Linked DNA regions of Homo sapiens: regions 1 and 3 are each linked to region 2. Evidence: promoter capture Hi-C in 16 types of primary human blood cells and fetal thymus (Javierre and others, 2016). All regions are on one chromosome and are shown on one strand. Each heading gives the region's core, a stretch centred on a gene start or on the middle of the fragment in contact. The rest is flanking DNA. Distances are from core to core; before and after follow the strand shown.

Region 1 (3,186 bases), core at 618-3,117, 260 kb after region 2:
GTCAGAGGCCAAGACCTCTGAAAGAGAATGGCTTTTAGAACTTATTGTAATAGTATCCAACCAGTTTTTTAAAGCTTAAAATAAGATACACAAGGTTTGGATATGGAAATCTTTGAAGAGTCATTGGTATCTTATCTCACAGAAAGGGAAAGGCTTTCAATGGGTTTAAAATATGTGACTTGCACTGTGATGCCAGGCAAACTGCACTCACTAGAGTTGATGTGCAGGAGGTTTGGAAGGCGGGGCGGCCTCCAGACAGGGGTCACAGGCCATGGGGAAGATAGGCGGTAAGGTCCACGTGATGATCAAGGAAGGAGGTCGGTTTGAGTTTATGGTCAATAATACTCTGTGTGATGATTAATACTGACTGTCAACTTTACTGGATTGAAGGATGCAAAGTATTGTTCCTGGGTGTGTCTGTGAGGGTGCTGCCGAAGGAGGTTAACATTCAACTCGGTGAACTGGGAGAGGCAGACCCACCCTCAATCTGGGTGGGCACCATCTCATCAGCTGCCAGTGAAGCTAGAATAAAGCAGGCAGGAGAAGATGGAAGAGCAGACTTGCTGAGTCTTCTGGTCTTCATCTTTCTCCTGTACTAGATGCCTCCTACCCTCGATCATCAGACTCCAAGTTCTTCAGTCTTTGGAATCTAAGACTTACACCAGTGGTTTGCCAGGGGCTCTCGGGCCTTCGCTCACAGACTGAAGGCTGCACTGTAGTCTTCCCTAATTTTGAGGTTTTGGGACTCAGACTGATCCACCACTGGCTTCCTTGCTCCTCAACTTGCAGATGGCCTATAGTGGGACTTTACCTTGTGATGGTGTGAGTCAATTCTCCTTAATAAACTCCCTTTCACATATACATCTATCCTATTAGTCCTGTCCCTCTACAGAACCCTGACTAATACACTCTGTGAGGAAACACTGGGCCTGAATATGGGAGACAAACAGGGTGGGGGGTTTCCACCACTGAAATCTTTACTGTGGGACCAGCAGAGCTGTCCCACCGTGGATGGACAAGCTATGTAGGGGTGAGGGGGATTTCGAGGGGACTGTGGTGATTCACCACAGATGCGCCAGTTGGGAGCTGCAGAGAGAGGCCTGGGTGATGGGCACATGTGATGTCAGGCACAGTCATGGGAACAGATGGAGAAAGGACACGGGGAGGGGCCACAGATGCTGAGAACCAGCCCATGGTGTTCACCCACGAAAACGAGACCAAGTGAGATGGAGAGAAAGGAAAAGAAACAAGATAGTGCACGCCATGGGAGGCAAGAGAGGGGCACAGGTGGCTGGGGACATAGGCTACGGGATAAGTCGAAAGAATGGAGTCTCTAGAGGGCAGAGCTGGTGGCGAGGCACCCCGTGAGGCCCCAAAGGACACAGCCCCCGAGGACGAATGGGACTCAACAGGTGGAGACAGCTCATCTCTGAGGAGGTGGCAGTCACTGAAGGGAGAAAAAAAGGACAAGAGACAAATGTGAAGCCAACACCTGGCAGCCAGGCCATGGGGGCCATTTGAGCATCTCTACAGGACACAGAGCTGGGGAAAAGGACGGCAGTGGAGCGGGTGCTGGGCTGCAGGGTGGAGGAGGAACTGGCTTCAGAAGGAGGAAGAGCATCTCTTCTTCTGGGAAAAAAGGTAGGAGGATTGGAATAAAGATAGAGGAGACATTTAACACATAAAGAAAACGTAAGCCATTTTGGAAACAATCGTTCTGGAATGCAATGATCATGGAGCTGATAACATGCAAGATTGCAGCTCTAATAGACACTGTAGGCAAGCCAAAATTTTCATGAATTTTTCATGGATTTAACTAGTAGCCTCAAAATGACCATTTCATATTATTAAACATCAAGAGACAAGAAATATCCAATGGGTGACGGCATCATCGAGAAGAGAATAGAAACAGATTTCCGGAGTCCACGGGCTGGTGAGATGCTCTAGAGAGCAGGACTCTGCTCTCTGGTGTGCCAGCCCCAGCCGGGCACCGTGCTATTGTTGGTTTTCATCACCCAGTTCCTGTCAGAACCACTGCAGTCATGCCACAGACAGAGCTTTTGTGCAAATGGTATTTTCTTCCCTATTAAAATGTTCTACTCTGTTCCCATCTAAATGGGTCCAGGAGCAGTCCCAGAGACACCTGCAAATTGCACAGAGGCATGGTTTGATTTCACATGCTCCTGATGACCATAATTGTTGCTATTATTTTCCTTACTATTTCACCTCTCAGGCAGAAAGTAAACAAAACACTTCTCAGGAGAGAGCGGGGAGAAAGGAAGAGAAGACATTGTGGGGCCAAATTGGAGCACAGGACGGCATTTGTTGAACCGTTCTGATTTCCTTTGATGCTTTCCCTCCCTGCTGTTCAGGATAATGCCTTGTTCTCCTCCCTAACTTGGTGTGGAAGGAATCCCTCCAAAAGGCAATGGGGGCAGACAGACCACGCTTTTATTTTCTTATAGGCATTTATGTTCTTACAGGAATGGTTTAGAGAGGCTTATGGATGAATTAAATGGTTTGCAAAATTAAGACTGGATTCTCTACCAAGTAGATAGGCAGGGACAATAAAGGAATAAAAAGCCACATTTGGAGCTAATGGCATTGCAAAACCAATTCTGGATGGAGAAGTTGGAATCAGATGACCCTCTGAACTTGAAGACATTTGGTGAAACAGCCTGGAGTCTGCCCATCATGCACTGAGTCACGGGTGGTTGGTGTGGGTAGACGCTCTAAACATTTTGGCTCTAAGCGCCTCTGTTTATACAACATTCTTTCCCGTTGCGTCAGGAATAGGAAGCCTGTTTTCTCTGAGATAATGGAGTCAGGAAGAGAAATCATGTCCCAACTCTGGTAGATTTTGTGGCAGTCCAGGAAACAACAAGGCTTTTCTTTGTATAAGCACACAGCACCGCTCTTTCCTACCTCCCTTCTTTCCTGCCTCCATCCTTGTATTCCACAGCTGATCAGGACTCAGCTCATCCCCATCAGACACGGCTCACTCTCAAGTGGTCCTCCAGGTGGGGTTGAAACAGTGGGGTGTCCGATGCCCAGGCAGGGCCCAGCCCGGCCTGTCTCAGGGGTTACTGCTGCTTGTCCAGGTCTGTAACTATTGTCCCAGGTTCGGTGATCAAAATCTCTCCAGATAAATTTCATCCTAAGAAATAATTAAAGAATCCAGAGCAG
Region 2 (3,606 bases), core at 447-2,946:
GAACGATCACCTCCTCTGAACTCACAGCACTTGTCTATACAGCCAGTCACTCTAATCTTTGATTGATTACTTCTCCACATATCTTTCTCCCCTCTAGACAGTGGGCTCAAGATAAGTGATATTACCTTTGCATCTCCAAAGTTTAGAGTAGCACTGTCCAATAGAACTTTCTGCAATGCAAATGTTCTGTATCTGCGCTGTTTAATACAGTAGCCTTTAACCACATGTGCCTACTGAACATGTGAAATGTGGTTGCTGTGACTAAGGAACTGAATGTTAAATTTTATTTAATTTTAATTAATTTAAATTTAATTGCTCCAGGCGCAGTGGCTCAAGCCTGTCATCCAAGCACTTTGGGAGGTCAAGGTGGGCGGATCACTTGAGGTCAGGAGTTCGAGACCAGCCTGACCAACATGGTGAAACCCCCATCTCTACTAAAAACACAAAATAATTAGCAGGGCATGGTGGCAGGTGCCTGTAATCCCAGCTACTCAGGAGGCTGAGGCAGGAGAATTGCTTGAACCCGGGAGGCAGAGGTTGCAGCGAGTCGAGATCACGCCACTGCACTCCAGGCCTGAGCGACAAAGCAAGACTCCATCTAAAAAAAAAAAAAAAAAAAATTCATTGGCCACATGTGGCTGTGGTAATATACAGAGTTACAGAGTGCAATGAGAACAGATACTTGTCTTACACTCTCTGAACCCAAAACTGTAGCCCAGAACTCTACCCACACCAAGTGCTGAGTAAGTATAATGACAAGGAAGTCAGGAGAGACAAATAGAAGATCCTTATGAAATACAATTCAATTTTAAACGTCCAACTTCTGCGACAGCACACAATAACGTGCAATATAATCGCATGCAATAACAAAAAAACTTACACCGCAGTTCCTGCTCCACTGCTACTTTTAACCTTCTTGCTGGAGGAAGTAACCCTTATCAAGTCTCGCTGGTAAGGCGCAGACACAAGGGCTTTTATTAAGAAAAAAAAAAAAATCTCTTACCAGGGCTCACTGCCTTAACAGAAAAATTTTAATTCAATATTATTTCACTTACCAATGTCCTGTTTATTTTTCCTCCAGTCTCCCTATTTCCAAAAGACCACCCCCCAGCAAACACACACATAACACCACCTTTACCTCCAAAGACAAACAGATGCAACAAGCTTTAGGGTCTCGGCTCACTGCAGCTTGCAGGATAAATGCCCTGCATAGCTACTTACGCTGCACAGCCCGAGGCCAGACCCCGCACCAGGCTCAGAAAACCAAATAGTACGTGGGAGCGATGGATTATTTGGGAAAGCGAGGGCAGACGTTAGCGGATTCCTAAGTCAGAAGGCCAGATGGGAGAGTCGGGGGGGGGCCTCAAAGTGGGTTTAAGTAGACCGCATGGAAAACTGGAAAGTTCTCAAATTCTACCCAGGAAGCAGGCGGAGCCCTCCTAAATCAACCAGCCGGGCAGAGGAGTCCCAGACCCCCGGCCTCGCACCCACCCCACCCGCTCGGCCGGTCCTCAGTGCGGCCGGGGCCAGCGGGCAGCCCCGGGACTGGACGAGGGCGCAAGTTCGCTACCTGCGCAGTCAGGCCCTGCTCCTCGTCGTCCTGGCCGCTCAGGACTCGCCGCAGCTTCTCCATGGCCCTGTTACAGGGCCGTAGCGGCCGCCACTCTGTTGCCTGCCCCTGACGCCCACCAGGAAACCCCGAACCCGAAACCCCACAGACCAGCCGGAAGTCCGGTCCCGCCCGCTTCCTGTGCGTCAGCGCGGCCGCCGTAGCAATGCGCGCATGCTCACCAGCCTTTCTCTCGGACCCGGTAGTGGTCCGTGAAGTCCGCGGAGTGGGCGCTGATGGTGGGGCTATCCCTTCCCACTGTCCGCGAGGTGCGCCGTGGTAACGCGCGGGGACACAGCGCGGGTGTGGACCCCCTGCCCACAGCTGGCGCACAGCCATTGAGTGTAGACCCGACTGGGGCACGACCACTGAACCCTGCACTTGGCGTCCTCCGGGCCCCGCGAGGGGCCTTGCTGGGCGGGTCCGCGGCACCCCGGGTTCCCAGAAGTCGAGGCCCCGAATGCGCCTCCCCTCGCCTGGAATCGGAGAGCGGAGGGCTCCTGCGGGCAGGTGGCCGTGCTCCGAAGAGCGCCCTGCCACCCATGAGGTGGCCCTGGGGGCGTCGCTAGCCTTCCCAGCTGGGTGTCCTCATCCGGAGACACAAACACCTGCCTCAGGATTAAAGCGAGGAGCTGTATTTCAGACCGTCTCAGGAGAAATAGCAAGAGGCTGCCTCACTCCTTTGCCCTTGTGAGAGCTATTTCTTTACTCAGTTCACTGGTCAGCTAGGAGTTTGAAAGAGTGAAATCTTATTTATAAAAGGAATAGCTAATGCAACCCATTTTTCCAGTTTTGTGTGAACAGTGAAACCATTGAACAAGCGTTTACTGTTCTCCGGCTCGTGCTGGATGAACAAACACTAAGAAATGGGGAAGTGGCATTTTTCTCTCTCTCATTTTCCACCATGCTAAGAAAGGAGATTAAAAATCAGGGCTGCCTGTCTAATATGGTCTCCAGAAGTCATTAAGTGATAGGTTTTGCTCTTCTGTTTGCTTCTAGGCTTGGTAAGATGGTAATGAGAATGCCTGTTCTTTTGATTACTTTGCCCACTCCATTTCCTCCCTAAAATCTTTCAGTTAAAAGGTGGATCCTCAAAAAGTTTCATTGTCCATCCTACTGCCTCAGTAGAGATTTTATCTAAACTCAATTAGATAAAAACAAATACCACAGGAACCCTAGGAAAGCAAGTCGCGCCTTCTTGTGATGAAACGGTCCAATGCTCAGCATCCTTTTCCTTTAGGCAGAAGATATTTCTATGTGGCCTGTTCATACTAATATGAGAAGTCTTATCCTTATGTCCTTAACTTTAAAAGGTCAGAAAATAGATTGTAAAATCTATAGAATAAAACTATGTTTCTGTTGAATAAGAGAGTATGTCCGTAAGTGTTACGGGAAAGGGGTCCGGATCCATACCCCAAAAGAGGGTTCTTGGATCTTGCGCAAAAAGAATTCAGGGCAAGTGAAAACAAGTTTATTTAAAAAGTAGAGGAACATCGGTAGTCTGAGGCAGAGAATTGCTTGAACCCGGGAGGCGGAGCTTGCAGTGAGCCGAGATCGCGCCCCTGCACTCCAGCCTGGGCGACAGAGCGAGACTCCGTCTCAAAAAAAAAAAAAAAAAGTAGAAGGACAAAAGAATAGCTACTCCATAGGCAGAGCAGGGCTGTCTATTACCAGGGCTGCTGGTTGCCCATTTTTATGGTTATTTCTTGATGATATGCTAAACAAGGGGTGGATTCATGCCTCCCCTTTTTAGACCATATAGGCTAACTTCGTGATATTGCCATGGCATTTGTAAACTGCCATGGCGCTAGTGGGAGTGTAGCAATGAGAACGACCAGAGGTCTCTCTTGTTACCTTGGTTTTGGTGGGATTTGGCCGGTTTCTTTACTGCAGTCTGTTTCATCAGCAAGGTCTTTATGATCTGTATCTTGTGCTGACCTTCTATCTTATCCTGTGTCTTAGAATGACTTAACTGTCTGGGAATGCAGCTCAGTGGG
Region 3 (3,495 bases), core at 900-3,399, 140 kb before region 2:
GCCCTCGGTGCAAGTGAGGCCAGCCTGACTTCTGTTCTCTGTAAGCGGCAGGCTTACTCCCACCTGAGGTTTTGCACAGGGTCTCCCTGGCCTGGGCCACTCTTCCATCTGATGTTACCACAGTTGGTTACTCTGACCTGTCTTTAATGCCCCTTTCACAAATCTAAACCATCCAGGGACAACAGATAAGGAAAATGGAGTGGAAGCCTCACCACAGATGATGGTGCAGTGCTGAGAAGCATCGGATTCGAGACAGACATAGAGACCTGGAGGCACTGAATGGAAAAAAGGAACAGAGGAGACAAGAACATGCAGACAGAACAACATGGGCTTTGCACAGGTACACGACAAACACAAAATGCACAGCGGACATGCGGCTGCTGCGGGGCAGGGCTGGTATGGGAACAAGACAGGGTGTGTGTGCGTCAAACAAGGCAGAAAAAAATGCAGCCTCGGGTCGCTAGGCATCGCTTCATCCTGTTAAATTCCCCAAAATAGCATGTATCGCTGTCAAACATGAGCATCAGGACTTTTATCCAAACAGGAAAATTTTCTGTTCTTTTAGTCCCAAGTATATGGAGCACACTTATTAATTAGGACATTATGACGGGCTCTGTGTAAAAATGGGAAGTGAATCTCTCAATATGTGTTTAGTGAAATTAAAGGTACATTGAATCTACTAAAGAAAAAAAACACTTAAGCCTGGGAAATTATCTTTGTGTTTTTTCCTAAGTGATTATTATTAGACACCAGAATAGCACCAAACCGAAAAAAATCTCACGACTGAAATATCTCAGAAACGACATTTCAATATATAAAGGAGACATCAATTTTAAGTTACAAGTAAGGAGAAATTTGGAAACAGAACATACAATTTAACTAAGATTAAGTCTTTCAAAATAATAAGCAGCACTCTAAAACTGAAATCAAGAACGATTTTCATGACTATTTGAATTTTTTTAAATTAATGTTGGTGTTTTTTTTGAGACAGGGTGTCACTGTGTTGCCCATACTGCAGTGAACTGGCAGTGTCATAGCTCACTGCAGCCTCAAGCTCCTGGGCTCAAGTCATCCTTCCACCTCAGTCTCCCAAGTAGCTGGGACTACAGGTATGCACCATGACATCTGGCTAATTTTTTAGTTTTTGTGGAGACGGAATCTCGATATGTGGCCCAGCCTGGCCTCAAGTAATCCTCCTGCCTCAGCCTCGCAAAGTGCTGGGATTACAGGCATGAGCCACGACACCTGGCCTAAATATTTCTCAAAAATAAACCAAGAATGATTTTCAAGGCCTAAGAAAAAGACATGGCACTGATGAGATTTTGAAGACTTTTATTAAAAGTAATAAGCATAGTTCATTCACCCAAAACTGACAGTGGAAAATCTGAATGTTTCAAGTAAGTAGAGGAAATTCCCCCAAATGAAGAGGGGATGACAGAGTCCTGAAGTTAGCTACTGGACACCTTCAGCGGCAGACACTGGAAGATTAGTTACAAGAGGGCTCGACAGGCCTGCAGGTAAAACAAACAAAGCAAAACAAACTGAAACAAGAAAGCACAGCCAGGCTCTCTCTCCCCAGCTCAGCAGGAGCTCCAGCCCCAGCTGCCATCATTCCTAGCACTCCGGTAGCAGCGTTACTATTACTAACACTTACGGTATCTTCAAAATCATCCTCCTGGCAACCAATGTGAAGTCACCACCAGGCCCAGAAAGTGGCTGTGACTCTCCCCTGGTGGCCAACACTGCTAGCTGCTGACCTAACTTCCGTTACCCATCCTCTTCCTCACTACCAGGCCCGTAGGTACTGCTGTGGGGTATAAGGTGCGCAGCTGAAGAAAATGCATTTTTCCAGCCCCCTTGTGAGATGGGGTGGCCATATGACCACGCTCTGGTCAGCAGAATGTCAGTGAAGTTTTTGGGTGGAGATTCCAGAAGCTTCCTGAGAAGAGGGCTGGCGGGATGGGCAGGGATCCCCTCTGTCTCAGGCCCTCTGCCGCAGAGGTAGTATGAGGTCAGGAGCAGGAAGCCCCCACCAGCAACAGGCAAGAGCGAGCAGCACCATGGGGTCCCCAAGCCAGCCAGGGACTCTCAGCGACAGGAGAGAAAGGCAAGCCTCTGCGTTCTCGCAAGAGGCTCTTTTCTGGAGGCGGTTTCAGTTTTGCGGTGCTGAATCCAGTTCTGTAAGGGAAGAAAAAGTTATTTCCTCACCCATTGCTAGGTTTATGGCTGAGACACCTATCATAAAAGACAGATAAACAAGAGAAAAGCAGGCGAATTTATTTCATTGTATGTAATTTTTACATGACACAGGCACCTTTAGATATGAAGACCAAAAGGCACAGGGAGGCCTGTGTATCTTTAGGCTAAGCTTGATGGAGAGCGGACAGTGGTGGAAAAGGGTGAGTACACAGAGCGGGTGTCACCTGATGGCAGTGAACTGCGGGAATATGCAAGGTGCCAGATTTCAGGGTCTTGTGTCCCAAACCCCATTAGTGTCTAACTCAGTGTGGATATAACTGCTGGGACGCTAGCAGCGGTCTCTTTGGAAATTGCCAGAGCGCGCCACCGCGGCTGCTGGGTCACTGGGCTTCTGTGTTATGATGGATGCTGTATTCGTCATCCATCATTTGTGGTGTGTTGTAAAGCATCACAAACTGGGTGCCTTTAAACAACAGAAATTTGTTCCCTTACAGTTCTGGATCCCAGAAGCCTGACATCACGGTATCGGCAGGGCCGTGCTCCCTCCTGGGAAGCTTCCCTCCCCTCTTCCCTCTTCTGGCATTGCTGGTGCGTCAGCCCGGTCTCCACCTCCGTCTTCACACAGCCATGACCCCGTGTGTCTCTCCTCCTCTTCAGATGTTCTTCAGTAAGGACATCAGTCATGTTGGATTAGGACCCACCCTGATGACCTCATCCTAGCTCACATCTCGATGTCATCTGCAAAAATCCTATTTCCAAAGAAGGCCACTTCACAGGCCCCAGGACTTAAGATTTTAATGTATCTTTTGCAACAAACACCTTAGCGAAATTTCTTGCAACACACACCTTGGTTTAATGTTCTTGAACTAATCCACTGGCCTCTGGGACTCAGGCATAGCTCTTTGGGCCTCTCAAACTGGCCTGATGTCCTGGGACCAAATTTGCACTGTGCCTAACCTTGGGCTGAGGATTTTTGCCAGAAAGCTCTGGTCTCTCATACCCCAGGCAGGCCCATCCTTCCAGTCCTCCAGGCAAAGCGAATCTGAACTGTGTTAGTTCTAGGCTGTGCCAAGTCCAGGCTCCCTGAGGTTTCTACACTGCCTTTATATTTATAGATCTTAAAAAAAAAAAAAAAAAAAAAAAGGTACTGTTTCTGGTATGGTTTGGCTGTGTTCCCACCCATATCTCATCTTGAATTGTAGCTCCCATCACTCCCACTTGTTGTGGGAGGGACTTGGTAGGAGATAATTGAATCACAGGGGCAGTTCCCCCATACCGTTCTCATGGCAGTGAGTA

The links. The method cuts DNA at HindIII sites, captures the fragments that hold promoters and counts their contacts. A CHiCAGO score of 5 or more calls a contact.
Region 1: a contact is called between a fragment that was not itself captured here and the fragment with the promoter of SFT2D1 in region 2, in 1 of 17 cell types (M1 macrophages). The highest score is 5.4, in M1 macrophages.
Region 3: a fragment that was not itself captured here is called in contact with the fragment with the promoter of SFT2D1 in region 2 in 1 of 17 cell types (neutrophils); the score reaches 5.2 in neutrophils.

Annotation. Positions count from the first base shown.
Region 1 is chr6:166,595,897-166,599,082 of GRCh38, forward strand. The region is part of intron 1 of RPS6KA2 (ribosomal protein S6 kinase A2); the gene reads right to left. Among named protein-coding and RNA genes, the nearest start is that of RAMACL, 11 kb to the left of the region's middle. The HindIII fragment of the contact is 3,591 bases long and covers 73-3,186 here.
Region 2 is chr6:166,340,849-166,344,454 of GRCh38, forward strand. SFT2D1 (SFT2 domain containing 1) reads right to left here and starts at 1,697. Exons shown (of 8, transcript NM_145169.3): 1 at 1,571-1,697. The coding sequence starts at 1,633. It overlaps LOC100289495 (a long non-coding RNA gene), which reads left to right and starts at 1,783. Exons shown (of 2, transcript NR_040022.1): 1 at 1,783-2,299. RefSeq lists a silencer at 1,408-1,567 and an enhancer at 1,629-2,522. The HindIII fragment of the contact is 4,850 bases long and covers 1,163-3,606 here.
Region 3 is chr6:166,203,424-166,206,918 of GRCh38, forward strand. No RefSeq gene overlaps it. Among named protein-coding and RNA genes, the nearest start is that of LNCDAT, 37 kb to the left of the region's middle. RefSeq lists an enhancer at 1,970-3,169. The HindIII fragment of the contact is 433 bases long and covers 1,934-2,366 here.